2 separate regions of the Homo sapiens genome follow, and region 2 is linked to region 1. Evidence: promoter capture Hi-C in human tissues and cell types (Jung and others, 2019). All regions are on one chromosome and are shown on one strand. The core of a region is centred on a gene start or on the middle of the fragment in contact, and the rest is flanking DNA. Distances in the headings are between cores, read along the strand shown.

Region 1 (7,285 bases), core at 1,074-3,573:
CAAGATGTTTAGTAGCGTCCCCAGCCTCTACACATTAGACGCCAGGGGCACCCACCCCAAATATCTCCACACATGGCCAAGTGTCCCCTGAATTACCCGCAATTGAGAACCACAACACAAGACAGTGACTCTGATTACAATGGAAGGACAGAAGTCAGGAAAACCCATCTCCCTCCATAGTCCTCTCTCCGTCACTTACCTACAATCTAGTCACATAGAACTCTGCTCAAACGCCCAGTGCCTCCTTTGTGGTATTAAATGCTTTACTTTCTTGATCTCATTTAACCCCCAAATGTGGTTACAACAACCTCTTGTTTACAGGTGAAGAAATGGAGGTTTAGAAAGATCACAGCTTGCACAGCAGTAAGTGGCAGGCTGGGATTACACAATTACACATCAGTAAGTGGTAGGCTGGGATGCAAACCCCAACCTGTCTAGTCCTGAGGCCAGCATTTAGCTATGCCACCCTGCCCCCAGGCTCTCACTCAGAGGTGAGAAATAGATTTTCTTTTCCTGGGTCAGCAGGGAGTGCTCTGTTTGAGAAGCCTCCGTTCCTCTGCTCTATAAAGCAGTAGCCCATCCCTCTTAAGGGAAACATCTTTCAGGTGCACAGCACACACATCCACGATTGTGGGTCTGCATGTCTGTCGCCCTCCCAGGCTGTGGTCTGTGTCCTCAGCCCCTAACACTGGGGCTTGCTGAGTAAAGTATTTGTAAATGCATGCCCACACAGCAGCGAGGGTTAGACACAGCAGCCAGTTGTGGAGTATGATCTCCCTGGCCATGTCCTGTGTGATCTTGGACAAGATAAAAACTTCTCTGAGCTCAATGTTCCCATCCATAAAATGGGAGGACCCATTTCTCAGGACAGATGCAAGAATTAAATGATGATAAATGCAGGCTGGTTTGTACTGATGCCAGGTGCTTTTTACATAGTCACCAGCAGGGAATGTCTAACTCCCTCCATGAAGTTGCCTACGCAAAGCTCTCTTTCAATTCCTGAACCTCTTTTGGTCAGTCTGTGACCCCCTTGTAGCCAGTGGAGTTGCTCTTTTAGGGTTGTCTGTCCAGCTAGACTTTTAGCTCCCTGAGGACAGGAGCTGTTCCTTTGTTCCCTCCCACAGCAGCCAGCCTGATACCGTCCTCATGGATCTTGTCAATGGATCACCAACAATAATTGCTGAAGAAGCAATAGTATGATTCCTACTTTTGCATTCGATACTGACTTTTCTGAGTAGGTTTTAGCATCTGGCATGCTTTTCCTTGGTTTGCAGCTCGACAGTCGTGCTGTGATTCCCTTCTCCCAGCAGTTCAGGTTATTAGCCATTACTTTGTTTCCGCTTTGGTCATTTTCTTTGATTTCCTCAGCCGCACATTACCTGTGTTAAGATTTCCGCTCATTGCTTCAAACTTAAGGAGTTGAAGAGGGGCTCAGGAGGGCCCAGTTAAGGTAGCCCTTCAAGGCTCCGAGCCCCATCCTGCCCAGCCAGGAGCTGCTGGACCATCAGCCAGTCAGGATGCTTTCTGGGCGTCAGCAGCCTCATCAATAAATTAAGGATATAAGTAGGACCTGCCTCAAAAGGTTAGAAGATTAAAAGTACAGTGGCTAGAATGTATCACACCCTCAATCTCTACAAACCCTCCTCTGACTGGGGCGGGTGGGGTGACCCGTGGGCAGCTGAGCGAGGGGAAACTTTCCCGGGCTTTCCAGCTCTTTAGCAGGCAGCAGGCAGGGCCCAGAGCGCCGGGCGTGCAGGCTGCAGCGGCTTTGCTTCCCCACGTTCCTCCCATGGGAGGACTGGCTGGCTTCAGTAACCCCTGGTGCTGTGGGAGCGAGAGCCAGACCTCACTGCCCCACCGCAGAAGACAAGCAAAGCCATCCTCGCTGACCCTACCGGCAGCATGCACTTCAAAATTAATAAAGGCTGCTCCAAAGTCTCTCCTCTTCAAAGCACCCAGGGCTGCCTCCCTCCCCAGTAATCAAGCCGGTTCTCCACACTCCCCGCTCCGACTTTATTGATTTGCCTGAAAGGAACCCAGTGCCCTCCCCAGATTATACCCCTGGAGGTATTGCAGGCATCGGATCCTCCACCGCTCAGTCAGGCCCCGACGGGGGTCTCCGCCAGGCTTGGCCCCTCCCCCAAGGTCACCCAACTTTTCCCTCTGTCCCCGCGCCCGGCCCGGGGCGAGAGGGGGTGGCGAGGTGGGGGCCGGGTGGGGCGCCACGGGGCCGGCGCTGGCCCCCTCCCCCGCGGGGCGGGCCCCGCCATGCATTATTCATTGGCCAGAGCCGGGCTGCGGGCGCGAGTGCTGATGTCAGGCAGGCGCGAGTGCGGCGGGCGCAGCGGCGGCGGCCGCCCAGCAGCCCGGGCTCGGGTGGGGGGGCGCCGAGTGGGGGTGGCGGCCAGCATGCTGCTCGGCTGCGGCTCGGCCTCCCACACCCGCGGCTCCCTAGTCCTCGCCAGCAGCGGCGGCGGCAGAGCAGCGAGCGGCGCCCGCGTCTGCAGCGGCGCCGGGTCCGAGCGCGCGGCGCGGCGGTGGGGGTCGGGGCCCGGGCGGGGAGCGGGGACCGGGCATGGCGCTGCGGAGAGGCGGCTGCGGAGCGCTCGGGCTGCTGCTGCTGCTGCTGGGCGCCGCGTGCCTGATACCGCGGAGCGCGCAGGTGAGGCGGCTGGCGCGCTGCCCCGCCACTTGCAGCTGTACCAAGGAGTCTATCATCTGCGTGGGCTCTTCCTGGGTGCCCAGGATCGTGCCGGGCGACATCAGCTCCCTGTGAGTGGGACCCCTCCAGCCCCCATCCCGTCCCGCCCCACCCTGCGTCCGCCGCCGCGAGGGAGTTGCCTCTGGCGCCGGGCCAGCGCGACCCTGACCCACTCCCCAGGCCCCTTCTTTGCCTTTGTGTGGGGGACGTGGGTGGAGTGTTGGCCCCCGGGGAGGACGGTGAGGACCTGAGCCCCAGAATCTGGGAACCCAGACAGGTTCCTGTGGCAGCGTTTCTCAGAGTGTGGCCCACGGGCCACCTGCATCAGACTCACCTGGGGAAGCTTGTGCCAATGCAGAATCCAGCTGCTCTGAAGCAGTCTTTGGAGTGGAGTCCTGGAGTGTGCGTTTGACGTCCCCGGGAGACTCAAGGGTGCATTAAAGTTTGAGAGGGCGTGTGCGTGTGTGTGTGTGTGTTTGCGGGTTGGAGTTGTGTGTGTAGGGGCGTGCATAGGAGCAGCTGAACACGACCTGACTGAGTGCAAACTGGGCAGGGTGAGGCCTCACTGCCCCACATCAGGTCTGGGGCGAATGTTCACCCCGTGGCCTCCTCCCGACTTCTCCACATTGCAGGTTGCAAAAAGTCGAGGTCAAGGCATGCAGGCTCTGGGAGGGGAGGGGCCGCCCCCCGTGGCCTAGAAGAGGGGTAACAGAAGGCTGGGCAGAGGTTTGGGGCATGTTGGGCGCCTAGCCCAGTGGCCAAGTGCTTTGAAGTCAGCCTTCTTGCCCTGAGGTCAGGAGGGCTTCTTGCCCCCTTTCTCCATCACACAGTTGTGTTGGCTGCTTTTTCAGCAGGAGGAACTGACAGGAAAGGGCTTCACATTAGGTATCCACCTGCCGAGAGGTGCTTTCATCCTGCCCTCACCTGGCCACTCAAGCCAAATGACCAGCTCTCACAAGGGCGGTGGAAGGGGCTGTTGGGCTGTATCTTTACTGCTAGGACATGTTTCCTGCTAAGACCACTCTCTTGTTCCAGGCCAAGATGCCTGGGTGCCCAGTCAGTGGTGGAGGCAGGGAATCCCCGGGGTGACGTTGCTTGTGCTCAAGATACTTTCTTGTGTCCAGTGCTTCCCAGCCTCCCACCCAAGGCAAATTGTAGGGGCCTGGACCCAGGAGTGAGGGGGTTCCCATTTGCATTTATAGAAAGTCAGAAGAGTTTGGCTGGTGGGAACAGAGGACCTTTTTGATTCTTAATATTGCTAAGTCGGGTGACATGGAGGATTCCAGAAATTAGAGTTCCCCTTATTAAATCCTTCAGACCAGCAGCTGCTTAAGTGATCTGCATGCCAACTGAAAGGAATTCTGAAATAATGTATTCAGATCCTGCTGTGGCCAGAAAGGATGGGGGCCTGGGGGCAGAAATAAAGCCAAGCATCTTGCCTCCTGGTTGACCGTTTTATCTGGCAGATGGTACTGCCTCTCCCCACACAGGGGAGTTCAGGTGTCTGTGAGTTTTTCCCCAGGGCTTTCATGTTGCATTTAATCAGGAGTGCTCTGTCTTTCAGAGATGGGGTCCCAAGAGGAATGCTTAATCCTACCCCAGCATTTCATAGGCCAACACAACGCTGTGTCTACACAAACAGAATCATGGGCAGAGGTGAAGCGATTATCCATTTTCAGGCAAGGACCTCCTGTAGTTAAGAAAAGGAAGTGAAGGGATTGATTTAAACTGACCGAGATAATGTCTGTGGAAGGAGCTGATGGTAAAGGTTTCTGTTATTCAGACTAGTCTTCATATTGATCTGATTCATTGGGAAGTGGCTTGTCTCTTCTTATTCCTACCCCGGGGAAGATCCTGGGCAACTGTGCTATGCCTCACTCCTGAGAGTCAGGGTTTGAAGTACAGGTGGAGGCAGAGTTTGATTACCCACCCTGCATGGCACTTCCTAAAAGAAACCTAGGCCTACTTTTGTTCATCTTTTGCCCGTAGGAGCCTGGTAAATGGGACGTTTTCAGAAATCAAGGACCGAATGTTTTCCCATCTGCCTTCTCTGCAGCTGCTGTGAGTATGGGAAGTTCCCTCTGCACAATGGGGGGCCCTGAGGTGCCATCCTTGGAGGGCCGTCTCTGCCTCTTTGGTATCAGCCCTTCCTAAAGTACCCCAGCTCCGTGAGGAGACCGTGGCTGCCTCTTGGTGTTAATTTACCCTGTGATGTCCCCAGCAAAGCACTGAGGCTCCCTGCTCAGCTCTTTCCTTAGTTCGATACCTGTTTTCTTCAGAGACTTTATTGTAGATCCCAACACCCAGATCTAGTAAATGGGGAGGTAATTGCATTGACTCATGACCTGAAAGTCACCTAAATGCACTGTTTCCCAAACACCTCAGTTTAAAAGAAAACTTCATTTTAAAATCTTAATGTTACTCTGGAAATAGGAGTGTTTCTAGTTTGCTGAGAACTTAAACCAGTCAGGCAGCATCCTATGAACTTACGTGCGTAATTTTATTTCATCATCACTTCATCGGTATGATGAAGGCATGCTTATGATCCCATTTGATAGATAAGGAAACTGAGGTTCAGGGAACTTAACTAACTTGTCCCAAATCAGAGCCAGATTCTAGTCCAGGGCCAAAAGCCCACACTCCTAACTATTCCTCATCCCATCTCCTCTCTGTGAGCAATGCTCAAGTCCCTGTGGTGATGCTCATGTTGTGCCCTGTAACCCAGGCTGGGTAATGTGTGCTGATGAAAACAAATGTCCAAAAAGTAGTTTTCAAAAGCAATCCAGTGACAGGCAAAGTAAGAGTACACACCTCATTCTCTTGATCTGTGTTGGTTTCTTAAATTTGAGATGAGACTGAAATTAAAACAAGCAATGTGCTATAGAAAAATTTGGATAAATGGAATATAGGAGAGCACTATTCATCCTCAATAAACATACTCTTGATACTTTTGTTCTTGAAATCTTATATGCCTACTTTTAACATTACACTTAACATTTTAAAATCTGAGGCCTCTTAGAAATTGCAGTGCTATTAAAATATACTTTTCATATAATAGAAATACAATTTTAGGTATTCTTTTGCCAGTAGACTTGGGTGATGACTCAAATAGAAAACTACGTAGTAACAGTCTCCTGAAAGTTTCTTAAACAAACTTTTTTTTTTTTTTTTTTAACTATTGTTATGGGTCCAGCTGCATGACTTTGGTCAAGTCACTTAGCTTCTCTGGGCTTTTATTTTCGTAAAAATAGATTTGGATTAGATCTTTTTAGATCTCTAATTTTATGATTGCTTGTGTACCATAAAGCATTCACTGGCTGTTTAGTCGTGCTGAGCATTATAATGTTTTAAAGTCACAGCTATCAGATCATATTTACTGAGACACACAGGGAAGAAAGGAGTAGAGTTCTGGAGAGGACAAGAAAATCTGGTCAAAAGGAATCCACTTGCCATCGTCTCTAAGAGCAGGCTGTGAGAATCAGGTTTTTGACAACAAAATGTGGTCTCCTTAGGCTAAGAAGAGCTCATGTTTGCCCACAGATCAAAACGTAGCAAAGGAAAGAGAAATGGCTTTACCATGTGACTCAAGTTTTACATCTCTCCATTGGAATCTGTCTCTTACTTTCAGATTGCTGAATTCTAACTCATTCACGATCATCCGGGATGATGCTTTTGCTGGACTTTTTCATCTTGAATACCTGTAAGTTTTGTGCTTTGTCTATTTGCTGAACATTCGGTATCTTGGTAGAATTTCTGGATTGGTTTCTGTGCTGGAACAGCATCTCTGCAAGGGTTTAGGGGTGGAGAAACTGGAGAACACCCCATTCTCTTTTCAGCACTGACCTTTTATAGTTTACTTGCTTACAAACATGCTGGGGAAGGAGGAGGCTGGAGACAAAGAGGGAGAGACAAAACAAAGAAGGAGAGATAGTCATTCATTCTCTGCTGACATTTAATTTGTCATGTAGTAAGCACAATTGGAAGTTGCGTTGGATATTTTTACCTCTCATAAATAGGCATGGATTTGCTGACCAGCCAGAAATAGAGCTGCGGGGTTCTGAGGGTTACTTATTTTTAAGAAAGCCTCCCTATTTGGGGGGTACAACTTCATGTTGTTCACTCACTGTTCTACATCTCTTTTGCAGTATCTCCTATGAATTGCTACTGAGGGTCTAATTTTATTTTATTTTTTTCCTTAAAAAAAGGTCATTTTTCCCTTTTTTGATGTGCAGATTTCTCCCCTCGCAATGAGCTTTGCCCTTGTTCTGATTTCTGCCTTTTCTTCCTTTCATGTCTTTTTTCCCCTTTAAGTTCTTTCATCCTTGTCTTTGGTAACTTTGTAATAATGTTAATCCTGCTATCAGATGGGATAGCCTCACTTAGCATTCAGAGGGATTTTTAAAGCCTTGTCTCATTTTCTTGTCTGAGTTCAACAGGTAGGTATTGGAATTCTAGACACATCCTAGATATAAGAAAGCTCTCTGCTGACTTTGTGTCTTGAGAAAAGATGTTCCTGGAGGAATTCTTTCTCCAGAGTATACATAATATGTGTATTCGCATAATACTCTGATATTATCATATACA
Region 2 (7,459 bases), core at 4,105-6,604, 300 kb after region 1:
ATGTGGGAGCAAATGAACTTAGCTGTTTCAGTAAAACTTTATTTACAAAAACCTGCTGGCTGGATTTGGCTTACAGGCTATAGTTTTCCAACCCCTGTCCTGTATCACTTGAAGTATTTTCTTCCCCATATAAGGTATCAATGTTCTTTACTGTGAAAGTCATCAAAGAAATTATTATCTTTGATTAAAGACCCATGTCTGTGGAGCTGGGCGTTAGATGTCCACATATGCTATCCCAGCACTATTCATAATAGATAACATAATAGAAAATTGTATCATAAAAGATAACCCAAATAGCCAGAAGTAAGAAAACTATTAAGACAATTCTGATAAATCCAAATAATAGACTATTATGTAGCCATTTAAAATGTTTATGGAATTTTTAAATAAGATGCACATGTTTATAATATGTCAACTTTTACATGAGAATAAAAATAATACATATAAAATATAAACTATGTTTTAAAATTCATAGAGAAAAGCCTAAAAGGAAAAACATTAGTGACAGATCTGGGTGAAATTATGAATGATTTTTATTATCTTCTGAATATGTGTCTGTATTTTCTACAATTTCTACAGCAGACCTGTATTAATTTTAAAACAAATGCTGTATTGTTTTAGTGTAAAGAAAGTTTAAAAGATGGCATCCACAAAACAATCTGCATAAATCCACTTAACATCAAGGAACACTGAGCAGATGGACAATGGAAATGCTCGTTTAGTAACAGCACAATAATTCAGAATATCAAGTCAAACCAAAGCCATTTGTAACTTTAATTGGGGTATTGAAAAAACAAGTAATTAATAGTAAACAATATTTTAGAAAATATTTATTAACACTGGGGACTCTTATCAGAGTCACACGTAGTATGCTAGAGTTTTTCAGGGATTGTCTCAATTAATCTTTCCAAAAGCCCTCTAAGATAGGTACTGCTAATATAATCATCATCATCATCATCCCCATTTTATAGAGGAGAAAACTGAGGCTTATACTCTTAAGAACTTGGTTCAAGCTCTGTGTACCTAGAAAGTAATGGAGATTGGGTGCAAATCCAGGGAGATATGATGCCCAACTGAAGAAATTGAACTCTTATAGAACTTTAAAAATAACTATTAGAGGCATGGCATTTCAGGCCAGGCACAGTGGCTCACACCTGTAATCCCAGCACTTTGGGAGGCTGAGGCAGGTGGATCACCTGAGGTCAGGAATTCGAGACCAGCCCAACCAACATGGAGAAACCCTGTCTCTATTAAAAATACAAAATTAGCCAGGCATGGTGGCACATGCCTTTGATCCCATCTACTTGGGAGGCTGAAGCAGGAGAACCACTTGAACCCAGGAGGCGGAGGTTGCAGTGAGCTGAGATTGCGCCACTTCACTCCAGCCTGGGCAACAAGAGCAAAACTCCATCTCAAAAAAAAAAAAGAAGAAGAAGAAGCATGGTATTTCCATCAGGTGAGGTAGTAGTTTCAAGTGGGATTATTAATTAGTCACAGCAACAGTTCCCAACAGGATCTCTGTTTGCCAAAATTTGATCTAGCTGTCTTTATGTTCTAATCTCTGGAAAAGCAGCATTTCTTTAAAAATGCTCTCCAGTCAGACCTTTCACTGGTTTAGACACTGGTTCAGCCAAGAAATCATCATGCCTTCCTTCCAGCTCACCCCTTTGCATCCCTTCTGCTTCAGAATTACAGAGCTTGTATTTTCCAGCAATGCACTGCAGTAGTTGCAGTGGGAGGGCTTTGACTTTGGATGGCTTCCTCAGGAAGGCACACACTGGGCCCTATGAGCCATACTCCTTGTATTAGTCCATACTCACACTACTATAAATAATAACCCGAGACTAGATAATTTATGAAGAAAAGAGATTTAATTGACTCACAGTCCCACAGGCTGTACAGGAAGCATGGCTGGGAGGCCTCAGGAAACTTACAATCATGGCAGAAGGGTGAATGGGAAGCAAGGACATCCTCACATGGCAGCAGGAGAGAGAGAGCAAAGGGGGAAGCGCTACACACTTTTAAACAATGAGATCTCATGAGAACTCACTTACTATTGTGAGAATAGAAAGGGGGAAATCCACCCCCATGATCCAATCACCTTCCACTAGGTCCCTCCCTCAACACTGGGGATTACAATTCACCATGTGATTTGGGTAGGGGCACAGAGTCAAACCGTATCATTCCAGTCATTCCACCCCAGCCTCTCCCAAATCTCATGTCCTTCTGACATTTCAAAATGTGGCCGTCTTTTCACAGCATCACTAGGCAATACCCTAGTGAGGACTCTGGGCAGGGGCTCCAACCCCACATTTCCCCTATGCCTGCCTGAGTAGAGATTCTCCATGAGGGCTCTATCTCTACAGCAGACTTCTGCCTGGACATCCAGGCATTTCCATATATCCTCCGAAATCTAGGTGGAGGCTCTCAAATCTCAACTCTTGCCTTCTGTGCACCTGCAGGTCCAACACCACATGGAAGCCACCAAGCCTTGGGGCTTGTGCCCTCTGAAACAACAGCCCAAGCTGTACCTTGGCCCCTTCCAGCCATGACTGGAGCTGGAGCAGGTGGGATGCAGAGCACCATGTCCTGAGAGTATACAGAGCCATGAGTCCCTGGCCCTGGCCCACTAAACCACTTTTTACTCCTAGGTCTCCAGGCCTGTGAAAGGAGGGGCTGCCACAAAGGTCTCTGAAATGCCCTGGAGGCATTTTCCCCATTTTCTTGGCTATTAACATTCAGCTCTTTTTTACTTATGCAAATTTCTACAGCCTTAAATTCCTCCCTAGAAAGTGGGTTTTTCTTTTCTACCACATGGTTGGGCTGCGAATTTTCCAAACTTTTACGTTCTGCTTCCTTTTTAAATACAAGTTCTGGTTTCAGGTCATTTCTTTGTTTATGCAAATGAGCATAGGCTTTTAGAAGCAGCCAGACCACATCTTGAATGCTTTGCTGCTTAGTAATTTTTTCTGCGAGATACCCTAAATCATCTCCCTCAACTTCAAAGTTCCACAGACCTCTAGAGCAGGGTCACAATGCCGCCAGTCTCTTTGCTAATGCATAGCAAGAGTGAACTTTACTCCACTTCTCGATAAGTTTCTTGTCTCCACCTGAGACCACCTCAGCCTGGACTTCCCTGTCCTTATCACCATCAGCATTTTGGTCACAACCATTCAACAAGTCTAGGAAGTTCAAAACATTCCCTCATCTTCCTATCTTCTTTTGAGCCTTCCAAACTATTCCAACCTCTGCCCATTACCCAGTTCCAACATCACTTCCACATTTTCACATATCTTTATAGCAATACCCCACTTCTGTGGTACCAATTTTCTGTATTAGTCCATTCTTGCACTGCTATAAAGAAGTACCTGAAACTGGGTAACGTATAGATAAAAGAGGTTTAATTGACTCACAGTTCCACAGGCCATACAGAAGGCATGGCTACGGAGGCCTCAGGAAACTTACAATCATGGAAGATGGTGAAGGGGAAGCCAGCATGTCCTACATGGCTGGAGCAGGAGGAAGAGAAAGTGAAGAGGGAAGTGCCACACACTTTTTTTTTTTTTGAGATGCAGTCTCACTCTGTCACCCAGGTTGGAGTGCAGTGGTGCTATCTCTGCGCACTGCAACCTCTGCCTCCTAGGTTCACACCATTCTTCTGCCTCAGCAGCCTCCTGAGCAGCTGGGACTACAGGCGTCTGCCACCATGTCTGGCTAATTTTTTTGTATTTTTAGTGGAGACGGGGTTTCACCATGTTAGCCAGGGTGGTCTCGATCTCCTGACCTCGTGATCTGCCCATTTGGGCCTCCCAAAGTGCTGGGATTACAGGCGCCACACACTTTTAAACAACCAGATCTCATGAGAACTCACTATCTCAAGAACAGCAAGAGGGTAATCTGCCCCATGATCCAATCACCTCCCACAAGGTCCCTCCCCCAACACTGGGGATTACAATTCAACATTAGATTTGGGTTTGACACAGAGCCAAACCATATCACTCTTCACGTGTACTTGTCACGCTGACTTCTCTCGCCTTGCTCCAACAGGCCCTGCTGCCTCCTACTGGAGGCATTTGCATTTGCTGTTCCTTCAGCCTACAATAGCTGTTTCCAAAATCTTCTAATGGCTGACTCTTCATCATTCAGGTCTCAGCTCTAACGTTACCATCCAGAGAGCCCTCCATGCTATCCGTATCTAAAATTGCCCCCCATCCTCCACCCAGCATGAGCAATTCCATTCTTGTTATTTGATGCATTTTTTTCTTCATAGCACTGCACCTGTTTGTAACCCTCTCGTTAATTTTTAAATGTGTGTTGTTTATGCCCTCCATTAGAATATTAGTTCTTTGTGGACAAAAACCCAGCATGCAGTTTTTGCTACAGTCCCTGTTCCTGGCACCTAGGAAGGCCTCAGTAAAGATTTACTGAGTAAGGCCAGGCTTGGTGGCTCATGCCTGTAATCCTAGAACTTTGGGAGGCTGAGGTGGGCAGATCACTTGAGGTAAGGAGTTCGAAACCAGCCTAGCCAACATAGTGAAACCCCATCTCTACTAAAAATACAAAAATTAGCTGGGTATGGTGGTGTGTGCCTGTAATCCCAGCTACTCAGGAGGCTGAGGCAGGAGAATCTCTTGAACCCAGGAGGCGGAGGTTGCAATGAACTGAGATCACACCACTGTACTCCAGCCTGGGCAACAAGAGCAAAACTCCATCTCAAACAAACAAACAAAAAAAGATTAACTGAGTAAATGATCCCATTTAATTTTCCCAAAAAACTCATAAAGCAAATGCTGCTCTACAGTTGAGGGAACTCAAGCTGAGAGAAGTTAAACAATTTCCCAGGTCACACAGCTAAAACCTGGGAAGGACAGGGGTTTGAAGCCAGGGTTTGTCTACCTCCCATTATTTTAACCACCTTCTATTTAGCCCATTGATGACAAGGAGATTCTCTCCCTAGGGCTATAGGAATAGCTGAACATGAGACGCCTAACACTGGACAGCTGAGATCAGCAGCAGTTTACTAGTGACATATACTCACACCCAAAGAGAAGAATTGCTGCACCATGCAGGGCCACACGGGGGGGTGCAATTGAGAGCAGAGTGAACCATAAGAGGTTGTGGAAGGCAGGTTGTGTAGTATCAAGAGGGTGGGGTCCTCCTTGGTTCCCACGAGAGGATAGATTGGCTTGTTTAGATAATTCTGCAGACTAGCAGAGAACTGAAACTGGCTACTCAGGGATAAGCAAGAGCTACACCTGGCTCATTTAACAAGAAGGGTCCTTTGGCCACGGGACTCTGTGGGACTCTAGAGTGGGAATGGGAACTTGTGATTAGGCATTTGAGACCCTCCCAATATTACCGGATGTCAAGGTACAGATAATATTAGACCTTAATTTTAAGTTTTACACCACCCCATATTAGAAACCACATGAATACTAAAAGAGAAAACAGGAGGACTTGTAGTAAGGAGATGAAGTAGAAGTGGCCTTTCAATAAGGCAGCCTAAAAATAGACTCAGCCAGCATCCCTCAAGAAAATGCATGGTTCTTTCCAAATGCCTTGCAATCTTCCAGAAATTCTTTCTTATTTCAACAATACTGCAAAATTGGCAAGGCTGGTCTCTCTGGGAAGAACCTCAAGGGCAATATTTTAGGGCATTTGAGCTCACGAGGATGATAGAAGATGGCTGACTTGCATCCTGCAACTGGTTCAACACCTACCCATAATACCAATGGGTTTTGCTAGTATGGTTTTAAACACCCATAAAAATCAAGCTTTATTGATGGGGAAAACATAATATCTTCCTGGAAGTGGGCCCTGCTTTGTGCAAAGAGAGTACACACAATGTTCCAAATATAGATAACTGACCCAGGAGTCCTCTGGGGCTACTGTGGCCTCAGACATAAACACAATGGAAGAACTCGTTAAAAGCAGCGTGATTGGCATCTAAGTCATGTCACTCTTGCCTGCATTTTAGATACTTAGTTGTGTCAAATATCGAATTACTTTCATCTGTGTGGGATGAAGAGCTGTTTGAAGCTCTTGCTCATTTTGCTTTGGGCATGCGTGTGTTGTTGTTATTGTGATGTTCTCTTCATCTCTTTGAGATTGAATTCTTTCTGCACTTTTACACATCCATGCAAAAGAGAGGAAGTGAGCATTGAGGCCGACAGTCCTCTGACTGGCTGGGGAGATGTGCAACCTTTTTAAATGCATTGCTTGGAGATGTATCTCCTATGTGCCTTTCCTCCCCACCTAAGTGTGCACATGTGCACACACCACACATACACACACACGCACACAGCTGTGCACTAATGCCACAGACAGTCTGGGTCGAACCTACCTTTGCCACTTGCCACCTCCCTCTTTCACCCCTGCCGTAGAGAATATTTGCAGACATTTCAGTGTCTTCACCTCCTGACAGTCTTCTGTTTGGAATGCTTTTCCCCGCCACTCTCCTCTCTCCTTCACCTGCCATCTCACCCTCTTTCACTGGTTGACTCACACTCACCCTTCAGAGCTCACTTCCACACAGAGGTACACATTTTAGTTAGAACCCTGCATTTCCCCTTTGTCATCCTCTGTGTTTGGAGGCTGCCCTGGGCCTGCACACAGCAGCCCCTTCAGCTACAATATGGAACGTTGTCAGACGACAGGGGCAAGACCACTGCACCAGCCAGGAGGGTTGCACCTGTTCATTTCTTTCTTTTTTTTTTTTTTTTTTTGAAGCAGAGTCCAGCTCTGTTGCCCAGGCTGGAGTGCAGTGGCACAATCTCGGCTCACTGCAACCTCTACCTCCTGGCTTCAAGCAATTCTCTGCCTCAGCCTCCAGAGTAGCTGGGATTACAGGTGCCCACGACCACGCCCGGCTAATTTTTTGTATTTTTAGTAGAGACGGGATTTCACCATCTTGGCCAGGCTCGTCTTGAACTCCTGACCTCGTGATCCACCCACCTCGGCCTCCCAAAGTGCTGGGACCACAGGCATGAGTCACTGCGCCCGGCTGCACCTGTCCATTTCTTTCCCTGAATTGTTCTCAAATTGGTCTTCTTCCTTTCAACGCTGTTTCCTGCCCATTTCAGATCACCATTGATATCCCATAAAATACGTTAGCCGCCTTTTAACTGGCCCTGCCTCAAGGGATCTGATGAGGCAAGCGGCACAATCTTTTGCCTTGGGCTTCATTCCTGGATTCTGTACTATAGAGGGCCCAGCTCTGGCTCTCAGAGCTCTTGGGTCTCAGCTGCACCCCTCCCTATGGAACAAGGAGTCTGCAGGCTAAAGGAACGTTCCCAACAAAGCCCTATCTGGTCCTCCACCTGCAGACGGTTCCAGATTAGAATGCAGACACCCAGGACCCTGCATTACTGATATTCCAGCCCTGAGCCAATTCTGGGCCTGCACAGGACTCCTCCCCTGAAGGTGGAGCCACTGCTAGTGTCCACACTACCAGGCCTTG

Evidence for each region. The method cuts DNA at HindIII sites, captures the fragments that hold promoters and counts their contacts. A contact is called where the count stands out against the background at its distance.
Region 2: a contact is called between a fragment that was not itself captured here and the fragment with the promoter of LGI2 in region 1, in 2 of the 25 tissues and cell types used here (IMR-90 fibroblasts and thymus).

The regions. Positions count from the first base shown.
Region 1 is chr4:25,025,984-25,033,268 of GRCh38, reverse strand. LGI2 (leucine rich repeat LGI family member 2) reads left to right here and starts at 2,323. Exons shown (of 8, transcript NM_018176.4): 1 at 2,323-2,772; 2 at 4,691-4,762; 3 at 6,330-6,401. The coding sequence starts at 2,576. LOC124900684 (a long non-coding RNA gene) reads right to left here and starts at 3,161. Exons shown (of 2, transcript XR_007058083.1): 1 at 3,036-3,161. LOC102723675 (a long non-coding RNA gene) reads right to left here. Exons shown (of 6, transcript XR_007058082.1): 6 at 6,366-6,589. The HindIII fragment of the contact is 9,452 bases long and covers 1-5,471 here.
Region 2 is chr4:24,732,857-24,740,315 of GRCh38, reverse strand. No RefSeq gene overlaps it. Among named protein-coding and RNA genes, the nearest start is that of SOD3, 59 kb to the left of the region's middle. The HindIII fragment of the contact is 7,905 bases long and covers 1,402-7,459 here.